Linked DNA regions of Homo sapiens: regions 1 and 2 are each linked to region 3. Evidence: promoter capture Hi-C in human tissues and cell types (Jung and others, 2019). All regions are on one chromosome and are shown on one strand. Each heading gives the region's core, a stretch centred on a gene start or on the middle of the fragment in contact. The rest is flanking DNA. Distances are from core to core; before and after follow the strand shown.

Region 1 (3,337 bases), core at 29-2,528, 130 kb after region 3:
TGATGACCGGGAAGACATGCATTCAAGCTTCATCTCTGAAACTTACAGGCTGAGTAAATAGGCAGAGATCAACTGCCCACCGTCCTTGAGTTCCCCCTTTTGGGAAGAAGCGGGAGAACAGATGATCTCATAGCAAACTCCCAGTTTCAAAATGCAGCAAAGCAGGAACCTTCCCCACCAAGCTGGTAAGTGCAGAAATAATGCCATCAACAGATCTGACCCTGGGTATACATCTCATCTGTGGGGTGGGGGGCACTGCTTTCTTCCTGTTATTACCAGCGCTGCCTTCTGTAGCCACCACCACAACATCAGGGACTCCCACTGCTTCAACATCAGGGACTCCCACTGCTTCCCCAACACGGCTGGCTCCTCGCACAATGGCTGGCACATTTTGGGCCCTCAAAAATATGTGGATGGACGAGTGGCACAAAACAGGCACTTAACTGGCAGCTACCAGGCACATCCAGTTAAATAACACATGGCCTTTTAATCCACTAACTTTTGATTAAAAACATCTCAGCTTTACAGGGCCTCCAGAATCTTTCTAGAGCCTTCTAACTCCCATGGCTACAGGCTTCCTCTGATGCAACAACTGCAAAGCTGTGAGGCCCAAAGCCTTGCCCATTCTCTTGAAGGCCCTGATATATTCCACAGAAAAGTGTGAGGATCTGGATTTCCAGAGAAGACTCAGGGGCACGAGGTGGGAAATGTCATCTCTGCTTTCCTGCCCTATTCCGCCTTCTGACTAGCGAGTGCCTAGAAACTTAGAACTGTCATATTCCAGGTCTCAGGGCTGCCTGGGAGGAATCAGTTCTGCCTGGTTTTCTGCGTTTTACCCATCCAGGGTTGACAATGGCGATGGAGTATGCTTGAGGCCCTCAGTACAAAGGGAGTGAAAATTCCACCGCTCCATTTATGAGGTCGCACTGCATGTATGACCCACAGCAGAAAGACTCATTGAAATCCAATAAAGATGAGGGCGGGGGAGGCTGCTCTGTTCCCAGAGAGGCCAACAGCATCTCTTCCATGCAATCTACCCAGCTCTGCCATTGACTGAGGAAAAAACAAGCTGCCATTCTGATGCTCTTTGTCAAGAGTGGCAACATGGCGACCAAAGGGATGGCCTGGACCTCCCCTCTCCCTCCCATTCTTCTAGGCCTGCAACTTAAAAGGACTTCAAAGTCTGAGGCAGCTGTGGTTTTCTTGCACGGAGAAGAGGGGAAGAAAGAGAATAAAAATTTTATTTCCAATAAAACACAACAATAGAGCTGCGGCACTTGTTTTTCTAGTTGAGACTCTTATTGGCTGCTTTCACATTCTAAAAGGCTGGGGGAGACCTCGAACCAGCTCGGAAGCCTCCACACCAGGGCTGGTCTGGCCTCGGGGAAATACAGACAGCCTCATCCCAAGGGGTCTCCCGAAGGCCTGACTCTGAGCTTGTAAAACGCAGGACAGAACTCTCAATTCAGCTCAGTTCAGTTCAACAGTCATTAAGAATCAGAGGCACATGGCTGTAGGAGCTGGAAGGTTCCGGTAGGGGTCTGTGTGTCAGGCCCTGTGCAGGACTTTGGGGACTTCAGTAATAAGATGGACATCTCAAGGAACATGTTAGCAGGAGGACCTGGCTGGTGTCATATGTCATGAGTACATTATAATTATTCCCACCATCACATGTGCTCAGCAGTGTACTAAACACTCTACACGCATGCCTCTTCATGGTAATGCTGTGGAGTAAGTATTCTTATCTCAATTGTCCAGAGGAGGAAACTGAGAATTACTGAGATTAAATATCTTGCTCAGGTGAAGGAGCCCAGGTTCAAATCCAGCTCTGATTCCAAAATCCCCTGGACGATCCCAGCCAACCAGTGTAGAAAGGATTCACTAAAGAGCCCCAAGACAGATTCTTTGTCGAGAGCACCAAATTGCTTCATTCTGCAAACCTTCCCTGAGCCCCTCCTCTGCAGCAGGCTCCGCAAGCTCATGACTTCTGTCAATGGTGGTGCTGGATAACAACAGGCCTCCACTCAGAAGGGGACAGGGGAGATGCTGTCTGTGTCGTCCCCAAAACAGAACACAGATTTAAGAACCAAAGACAGTGAGGAGGAGGCAGGCTTTCCCAGAACCACCTCAAATGGAATGGGCTGCAGGGAACATGTGGGTGAGCCCAACTGGAAACAAGCAAACACCTGTCAGGAATTCTGTAGCAGAGATGGCATCAGGAAGGGTCCTGGGAATAACCAGCCACTAGGCTCCCTTGCAGCTCTGCAAGGACAGATGAGTCCAAGAACATGAGATCCCCAACTTGCCTGCTGCCATTTCCAGCACATAAACACACACACTCCCGTCTACATCCTGCGAGGGGTACTTTCACAGCCCCTCTCAGAGAGGAGGCAAAAGACGCACACAGACACTCACTCTTCAGCGGTGATGCTGATTAACATCGCAGCTTGCCCCCTACCTCGCACTGGTAATTACACGCTGGGTCAGGGCCGAGTCCCTTCCTCTAGGTGCGGTGTCTGCCATCAGGGGCATAAAGGTGGGATGTCTTGAAGGAGTGAAGGGCTGCCTGCCTCTGTGAACTCAAGAGAAGTCCCAGGACTCCCCATTTCCTTGGAAAATAGTTTCTAGACTTGTCACCAATAAATTGCCTGCATCTTTTTTTTTTTTTTTTTTGAAGACTTCCCCCACTTCACTAATTGCATTCACTGCCTTTTTCTCCATAAATTTAATTAACTTGCTATGTGACCTTGGGCTAGGCAAGCCACCGCCCCTCTTTAAACTCAGTTTCCCTCTCCATAAAATGAGAATGGGGCTGTAATTTCTTGAAGCCCCGAAAGCTTTAACACCCCAGGTTTCCGTGAGGGGGCTAAGCCTGTGGCCTTGATATTCCTGGCTGCTTTGGCCCAGGGGGCTCCGCAGAGCGCCAAGACCATCCTGCTCTGAACAGCTCTTGGCCCTGACAGTGGTGCTGGCTCTCAAGGCCTTGCATTATTCTAGAAGAAAAGGCAGGACAGCCTAACTTGGCGAGGTCCTCTTTGTCCCCGATGGAGCCTCAAAGCTCAAATTTGCCTCCAGCATTTCAGCAAAGCCGCCAGTCCCTGGGAGTAGCAGAGACTCCAGATCAGGGACTGGATCAAGAGCATAAGCGTGAGGCTGAAATTGTAATAATAATAACTGACATTTATATCACGCCTTTCATCCCCAAATCCCAAATTAATTAACTTTTTACGAGACATTTTTAAACTAGTGCCATTTAATAAAATTCTATTAGGAAAAGTCTTTTTTTCTCCCCCCAGCCCTATATTTTTATTAACAGCCACCAAAAATATAATTTACA
Region 2 (3,470 bases), core at 547-3,046, 180 kb before region 3:
GTGGAGGCTCAGAGGTGTTCAGGGCTTGGGCTGAATCACATAGCACCTAGTTTATCCCAGGAATCAAAGGCTTTCTGGGAGAAAGGTTAAGTAATCCAATAATAAAATAATAATAAAATGGGAATGAGAATAGCACCTTCATGACAGGGTAGTGTTGAGGATTAAATGAGTTAATGTGTGTGACAGGCAGTATCTGGCATAGATTAAGTGCTGGCGATTACTTCCAGTGACTGCTCAGGGAAGCCTTGTTTAAAACCCCCTGCAGCCTCCCAATGCCCTTGGAGTATAGCTGTGGCTTTTGAGGCCCTGCCTCGCTTGGTGCCTGCTAAGTCCCAGCCCCATCCCTCTCCCTCGTCCCTCTTTTGACCCTGAGGATACCTAAGCATCCACCTCCTGTATCACCTTCAGGTCTTCCCCTGCCAGTCCCCTGCCAGGAAGCTGGCATCAACTCAAGCACTGCCCTCTCCTAAAGTCCTTCCTTAGTACCCTGCCCAGGTAGGGTCCTCCTCTGGGCTTCCAGGCTGCTAATACTTCCTCAGTCCATGTGCTGATGACCCTGTATTTTATCACCTGCATCTGCCAAGTGGTTTGATTCACTTGTTGACTGGCTCACAAGGGCAGGCAGGGGTTATGTCTGTCCTGTTCACCACTATACCTGTAGAGCCTCCAACAGTGTCCGCCAGACAGTAGGTGCTAAATAAGTGCTGGTTGAATAAATGAATGAACAAAGAACTAGTACCGGAGAGCCCGACTGTGCCTGGTGGATAGCAAGGCTGAGAAATGAGTTGGAAAGAGGGGTGGGGTCCCACCCCTAGAGACAGGTCCAGGGTGAGCCTAGAACCTTGCCTTGTGCTATGAAAGTCACAGATCCCAGAGCTGGGCTAGGGGCAAAGCCCAGGCAGTCTCTGGCAGATGGCCCTGTTCCAAGTGTGCCCCCTCCCACCAGCATCAGCCCCCAGGAGCTGGGCTCGACTTACCCGACGTCCCTTTGCTCCCCTCATGCCTGGTGGGCCTCGAGATCCTGGAGGACCCTGGGAAGAGGAGAAAGAGTTTGGAGAGGCCCCTTTTTAGGAAGTGAGAGCAACACGGGGGGCTGGGAGTGTGGGGCAAAGCTTGAAGGCCTGCAGCCCTCAGACGGGCATGTTCAGAAGCTGCCGGGGCCCCAGCAGCCTCCACATGGAAGGACTGGGCACCTGGCTCACTGGGGAAAGCAGCAGGCGAGCCACAGCCTCGAACACAGCCAATGCCCTGGGCTATAGGGGGATGGGCCTCGACCTTTCCTGGGAGTCTGGGGAGTGGGGATAAGGCCCCCTGCATGACATTTTCTTCTCCTTTTCCTCAAAATCAACAATGAGAAGATACGATGCCATTCATTCATTCATTTATGTATTTATTGAGAGAGGATCTCGCTCTGTGGCCTGGGCTGGAGTGCAGTGCAGCCTTGAGCTCCGGGCTCAAGTGATCCCCCCGCCTCAGCCTCCTGAGTAGCTAGGATTGCAGGCATGCACCATCATGCCCAGCTAATTTTCTTATTTTTGTGGAGACAGGGTCTCACTATCTTGACCAGCCTGATCTCAAACTCCTAGGCTCAAGTGATCCTCCTGCCTCAGCCTCCCAAATTGCTGGGATTACAGGTGTGAGCCACTGCATCCAGACTACAATGACATGTATGACAAAAGGTCTCCTCAAATCCTCATCTCCCTTTTTCTCCCCCACCAGAAAGGAGAATCTGGTGACCCAAGTTCTGTCCCTCACCTCCACCCTGACACCCAATATTTTCCTGAATATTTTCTCCCAGGGAAAAGAGGAGGAGGAAGAACTGAGAACACAGGCCTGGGGTGAGCTTGGGAGGCGGAGAGGGCAGAGTGGGAGAGGATCAAGAAAGAGAGAAGGAGAGGGGAGGCAGAGGCAGAGAAGTGGGTGGGGTGGCATGAGAAGGGAGCAAGGCCCAGCCCCGGGCAAATGGGCAGCCATCTTGGTTTTGATGAACAGACGACAAGAGGGGCAAGAGAGACAGGGTGAGAGGGCCAGTTTAGTTCTTGGAATTCTCGGCACCTGGCCTGGCACAGGTGCACGACAGACACTCAGGAATCTGCTGAATGAACAAGGAGCACATGAACTGAAGAGGGCAGAGGGTGGGAACGGAGGGAACACAGGAGAAGATGGGAAGCAGGCCACCCCTCTGCCTAATGTCTCCCCCGCCCCCACCCCGATTCCAGGCCCAGCTTGAGAGACCTCAAGCAGCAACTTCATCCACCGGCCAGCCAGGACCCTCTGCCAGCTCCAGGAGCCTCCCAGCTCCGCAGCAATTCTCAGACTGGGCGTGCTCCTTTTGCAAGGCAGAGCCAGTCTCATCCCTCCTCTGAATACCAGGGAGAGGCCCAGCCCCATCTGGTGCCTCAGAGCGAACTCTTGACTTTCCCATTTCCCTTTCCCCATGGCTTTGAGGGGTGTGAACCCAGCCGCTATCACCCAGCAGACCCTCCAACAGCTGCTGTGGAGGGGCTGATGTGAGGGGCTGGGTCCCAGGCTGACCCTTCGTCAGTAGAGCAAGCAGGGTGTGGACCCGGGCTTGGCCCCATAAAAGGCAGTTCTGACTCCCGGATGGTGGAGAACAGAAAGACTGGGTGAGAATGGGCCATTTTATAGAGTGATCTCAGAGCTCAGAAGGCATGCAATGCACCGCTGGGAAATTTCGGGAGCCAAGTCTCTACATCAAGGCATAGAGTGCTGAAAAGAGCAGGCTGTAGCACTGGAGAACCCGGGCTCACATGCCAGTTTGGCCACTTACTAATTGTGCCATCTTAGGCACGTTACTTCAACTCACTGGGCCTCAGTTTTGTCATCTATAACATGGGGATAGAAGAGTCCTTACCCCCTAGAGTTTCTAGAAGGTGAAGTGACAAAGTCCTCAGGAAAAGGTAGCTGCCTGCTCTCGCAAGGCAGGAGGAGGTCAGAATTGAATGCTAGACCCAACTCTGGTCACTGGGTGACCCTAGGCAGGTCCCAGGGCGACCCTAGGCAGGTCCCAGGGCCTCACTCCCACCCCCAATAATGGGGATAATAATCTTTTTTTGTTGAGATGGAGTCTTGCTCTGTCGCCCAGGCTGGAGTGCAGTGGCGCTATCTTGGCTCACTGCAAGCTCCGCCTCCCAGGTTCACACCATTCTCCTGCCTCAGCCTCCCGAGTAGCTGGGACTACAGGTGCCCGCCGCCATGCCCGGCTAATTTTTTTCTGTTTTTTAGTAGAGACGGGGTTTCACCGTGTTAGCCAGGCTGGTCTTGATCTCCTGACCTCGTGATCCGCCAGCCTCGGCCTCCCAAAGTGCTGGGATTACAGGCATGAGCCATTGCACCTGGCCTGGGGATAATAATCTTGATAGATCTCAATGTGCTATCGGACAACATGGAGGTGAAAGTGATTGATAAAGTGGGAAAATGCCAATCAGGTGTGAACAATATCACCAGAA
Region 3 (3,539 bases), core at 948-3,447:
AAAGATTGAGAAACTTTGTGAACACAAGGAACACGAAGATAACTGTCCCAGAAAGCTAAACCAAGACAGTAACTGTGCTTAAACTTACATCATGGCTTTGAGCTTCCTAGCAGCCAAAGCAAGAAGGGAATATAATCACTGGCCAAGGTTAGGGTGACGGAGCAAAGGAAACACATTTATGAATAGAAGCACACTTGTTCTGGATACCAGTGAAAGAGGGATGTACTGACTGAATCTTACAGAAGGGACATGATACACCATTTGTTTCTGCACTGACTACATGGGGGAATCCTTTGATTCTCACATAAGCAGGGGTCTTAATCTTGGGACTGCCTGCCCGAAGGGGTCATTCCCAGCTCTAACAGAGAGGTGGCTGAGAGTATGGAATGTTCCATGCCAAGAGCAGGGAGGAAGTAAGGACAGTAGATTTAACCACTGGAGAAGGGAAATTCATAGAGAGGCCTTTGGTATTGCTGGCAAGAGTGTGAGCTCACAGACAACGGACCTGGGTTTTAAAAAATTCTCATTTAAAATCTTAAATTTAGGCTGAGCGCAGTGGCTTACGCCTGTAATCCCAGCACTTTGGGAGGCTGAGGTGAGAGGATCACCTGAGGTCAGGAGTTAGAGACCAGTCTGGCCAATATGGTGAAACGCTGTCTCTACTAAAAATACAAAAATTAGCCAGGCATGGTGGTGGGCACCTGTAATCTCAGCTACTCGGGAGGCTGAGGCACAAGAATCACTTCAGCCCAGAATGTGGAGGTTGCAGTGAGCCGAGATCGCACCACTGCACTCCAGCCTGGGCGACAAGAGTGAAACTCCGTCTCAAAATAATAAATAAATAAATAAAACCTTAAGTTTAATAACTACTGTATTAGTTTCCTAGGGCTGCTAGGAAATGTGTCTTCTCTCAGCACTGGAGGTCAGACACCTGAGACCAAATTTTCAGCAGAGCCATGTTCCCTTTGAAGATTCTGGGGAAAAGTCCTTCCTTGCCTTTTGCTAGCTTTTGGTGGCTGCCATCAATCCTTGGTGATTTTTGACGTGTCACTGCATCCCTCCCATCTCTGCCTTCGGCGTCACGCCACATCTTCCCCGTGCTTCTCTCTGTGTCCCTGTGTCTGAGTCTCCCTCACCATTCTCTTATAAAGATACCGGTCATTGGATTTAAAACCCCTGTCATCCAGTTCAACCTCATCTAACTAATCACATCTGCAAATCAGGTTCATTCTGCGGTTCGGGGTGCACATGGATTCTGGAGGGGGCACTGTTCAACCCACCACAAACACTCAGCTCTTACTCTATGCTGGGTACTGTCCTAGCGCATTGCAGGTGCTCACTCAACAATGCTAGGAGCTAGGAACTATTATTATCCCCATTTACAGATGAGGAAACCAAGGCACTGAAAGGTAAAGTGACTTGCCCAAGGTCACACAGCAGTGAGTGCCACTGTAGGCTGCCTGGCTCCCACGTCCATGGTCTCTACCACGCCTTTCCCAGCTACTCCACTCCCGGCTGAGGGATTCTGGGCAAGTCACTTCACTTCTTGGAGACTCAACTCCTCTGCCTGTAAAGGGGACAAATAGCACCTACTTCGTAAGCTTGTTGTGGGGATTTACTGGACACCTGTGGCACGTGTAAAGTGCCTGGTACACAGCCAGCACATAGCAGGTGCTCAGTGAACGGAAGCTCGTAACAGTCATCATTGTTAATGTCTCTATTATTTGCAAAGGCTAGGGCAAGCCTGGGGGCTGGAGAAGGAACTCTGGAGACAGGATACCTGGGTTCTGGTCTTGGCTCTGCCCATAGACTTCCCTGAGGTCTCTGGCAAGTCACTTCCTCTCCTTGGGCCTCAGTTTTTTCCTGTGAGAAATGGGCCCAATCAGGCTTGACCTGCTGGCTCACAGAGCTGTGAGGTCCAGATGGCATGACTCAGCAGAAAGGCCAGGTCGCTCCCCATCCTCGCATGCCCTCTGTGGGGGACTTTTGGGGGGCGGAGCCCAATCCTGGTGCTCCAGGGCCCTATTGTGCTTGGCCAATGCCTCTTCTGAAGCAGCCATCCCGGCCTCTTGGTACTGCTGACCCCAGCCAGGCTACAGGGATCGATTGGAGCTGTCCTTGGGGCTGTAATTGGCCCCAGCTGAGCAGGGCAAACACTGAGGTCAACTACAAGCCACAGGCCCCTTCCCCAGCCTCAGTTCACAGCTGCCCTGTTGCAGGGAGGCGGTGGCCCTTCTGTTGCTAGACCGAGCCTGTGGGATATACCAAGGCAGAGGAGCCCATAGCCATGAGGAGCCTCGGGGCCCTGCTCTTGCTGCTGAGCGCCTGCCTGGCGGTGAGCGCTGGCCCTGTGCCAACGCCGCCCGACAACATCCAAGTGCAGGAAAACTTCAATATCTCTCGGGTAAGGCTGCCGCTCTCTGTGGTAGGGTGGATGTGGTGATGGGGAGTCCAGGCAGATGGGCCCTGCTGGGCAAGTGCGGCCTGTCTCGGGGTCTCAGGCTTCCACTCAGATCATCTGGGATTATGGGATCCTTTGAAGGTACAGCTCTATCCCCTGCCATTCCGTGGGTCTCTTGGCTGACATTCTATGAGTCAAACATCCTCACCTTCTGCACTGTCCTCGTGGGCTCCAAGGGGAACCCTTGTGTTAATGGGAACCTGCTCCAGAGAAGGCTTTGTCCTGCCTGCCACTGCCCTGCAGCCCCCGTGCAGACACCTAGCTTTGCCCAGACCTCCCAGCCCTTCCTTCTCTAATGACTCCCCTCTCTCTGTGGCATCTTTCCCTTAGCTCTTCCTGTGTCCCCTGCCCACATCCTGGCCTGACTGTGGACAGACACCTGGGGTGGCACAGCGTGGGCATGTGGCCAGCAGCTTTTGGGTTGGGCATGTGGGGCTTATGGGAAGAGGTGAAGCAGGACAGAGATTAGGGTTGGGAGACATTCAGAGGCTTGGGCACAAGGAGAGACCTGGACTGGGGCAGGACACTCTCCTGTGAGTGTGGAGTGCCAGAGCTGCCTTCCAGCCCCCACTCTGCCCTAAATCCCGGGGTGGCTTTGAGAATACCCTTGCCCACCTGGGGCTGTCTCCATGTCTGTATGAAGGGTCTCAGAACCTTCTAGCTGTGGTGTCATGTGGGTTTTGTTTACTTTTAGGGACAAGGAAAGGTCGTGGCAGAGGGGCAATGAGGAGCAGGTCCCTGTGGCAGTCTGGGACGCAAAGGGTGTGGGGCACATTGGCCTGTTCCGTAGGAGCCTGAGGGCTCCTTCAGCTGTCCCGTGCACTTTCAGGAGGAAGAGGAAGCAGGCCTATCCTGAATGACCCCATCATGTTCATTATACTTTTGAAATAATTCCTAACATGGGGCTGTGGGCTGCCTTGCAAGGTGGGGAGCACCCCATCATTGGAGGAGTAAAAGACAGGACTCCAGCTCTTGGGGAGCAGTGGTTGATGGAGCTATGGACAGATCCCACATCTTGAGAGAGTTAGCCCTTCTGCAGGGCAGGTTGGGACCCCAGCCGCACACCTGCTTCCTGGGT

Evidence for each region. The method cuts DNA at HindIII sites, captures the fragments that hold promoters and counts their contacts. A contact is called where the count stands out against the background at its distance.
Region 1: a fragment that was not itself captured here is called in contact with the fragment with the promoter of AMBP in region 3 in 2 of the 25 tissues and cell types used here (H1 embryonic stem cells and pancreas).
Region 2: a contact is called between a fragment that was not itself captured here and the fragment with the promoter of AMBP in region 3, in 1 of the 25 tissues and cell types used here (spleen).

Annotation. Positions count from the first base shown.
Region 1 is chr9:113,945,735-113,949,071 of GRCh38, reverse strand. The region is part of intron 1 of ZNF618 (zinc finger protein 618); the gene reads right to left. Among named protein-coding and RNA genes, the nearest start is that of ZNF618, 71 kb to the right of the region's middle. The HindIII fragment of the contact is 6,054 bases long and covers 1-3,337 here.
Region 2 is chr9:114,256,102-114,259,571 of GRCh38, reverse strand. COL27A1 (collagen type XXVII alpha 1 chain) reads right to left here. Exons shown (of 61, transcript NM_032888.4): 28 at 978-1,031. Among named protein-coding and RNA genes, the nearest start is that of MIR455, 48 kb to the right of the region's middle. The HindIII fragment of the contact is 4,257 bases long and covers 1-3,470 here.
Region 3 is chr9:114,076,958-114,080,496 of GRCh38, reverse strand. AMBP (alpha-1-microglobulin/bikunin precursor) reads left to right here and starts at 2,197. Exons shown (of 10, transcript NM_001633.4): 1 at 2,197-2,404. The coding sequence starts at 2,288. It overlaps LOC107987120 (a long non-coding RNA gene), which reads left to right. Exons shown (of 3, transcript XR_001746905.1): 3 at 1-557. The HindIII fragment of the contact is 16,108 bases long and covers 1-3,539 here.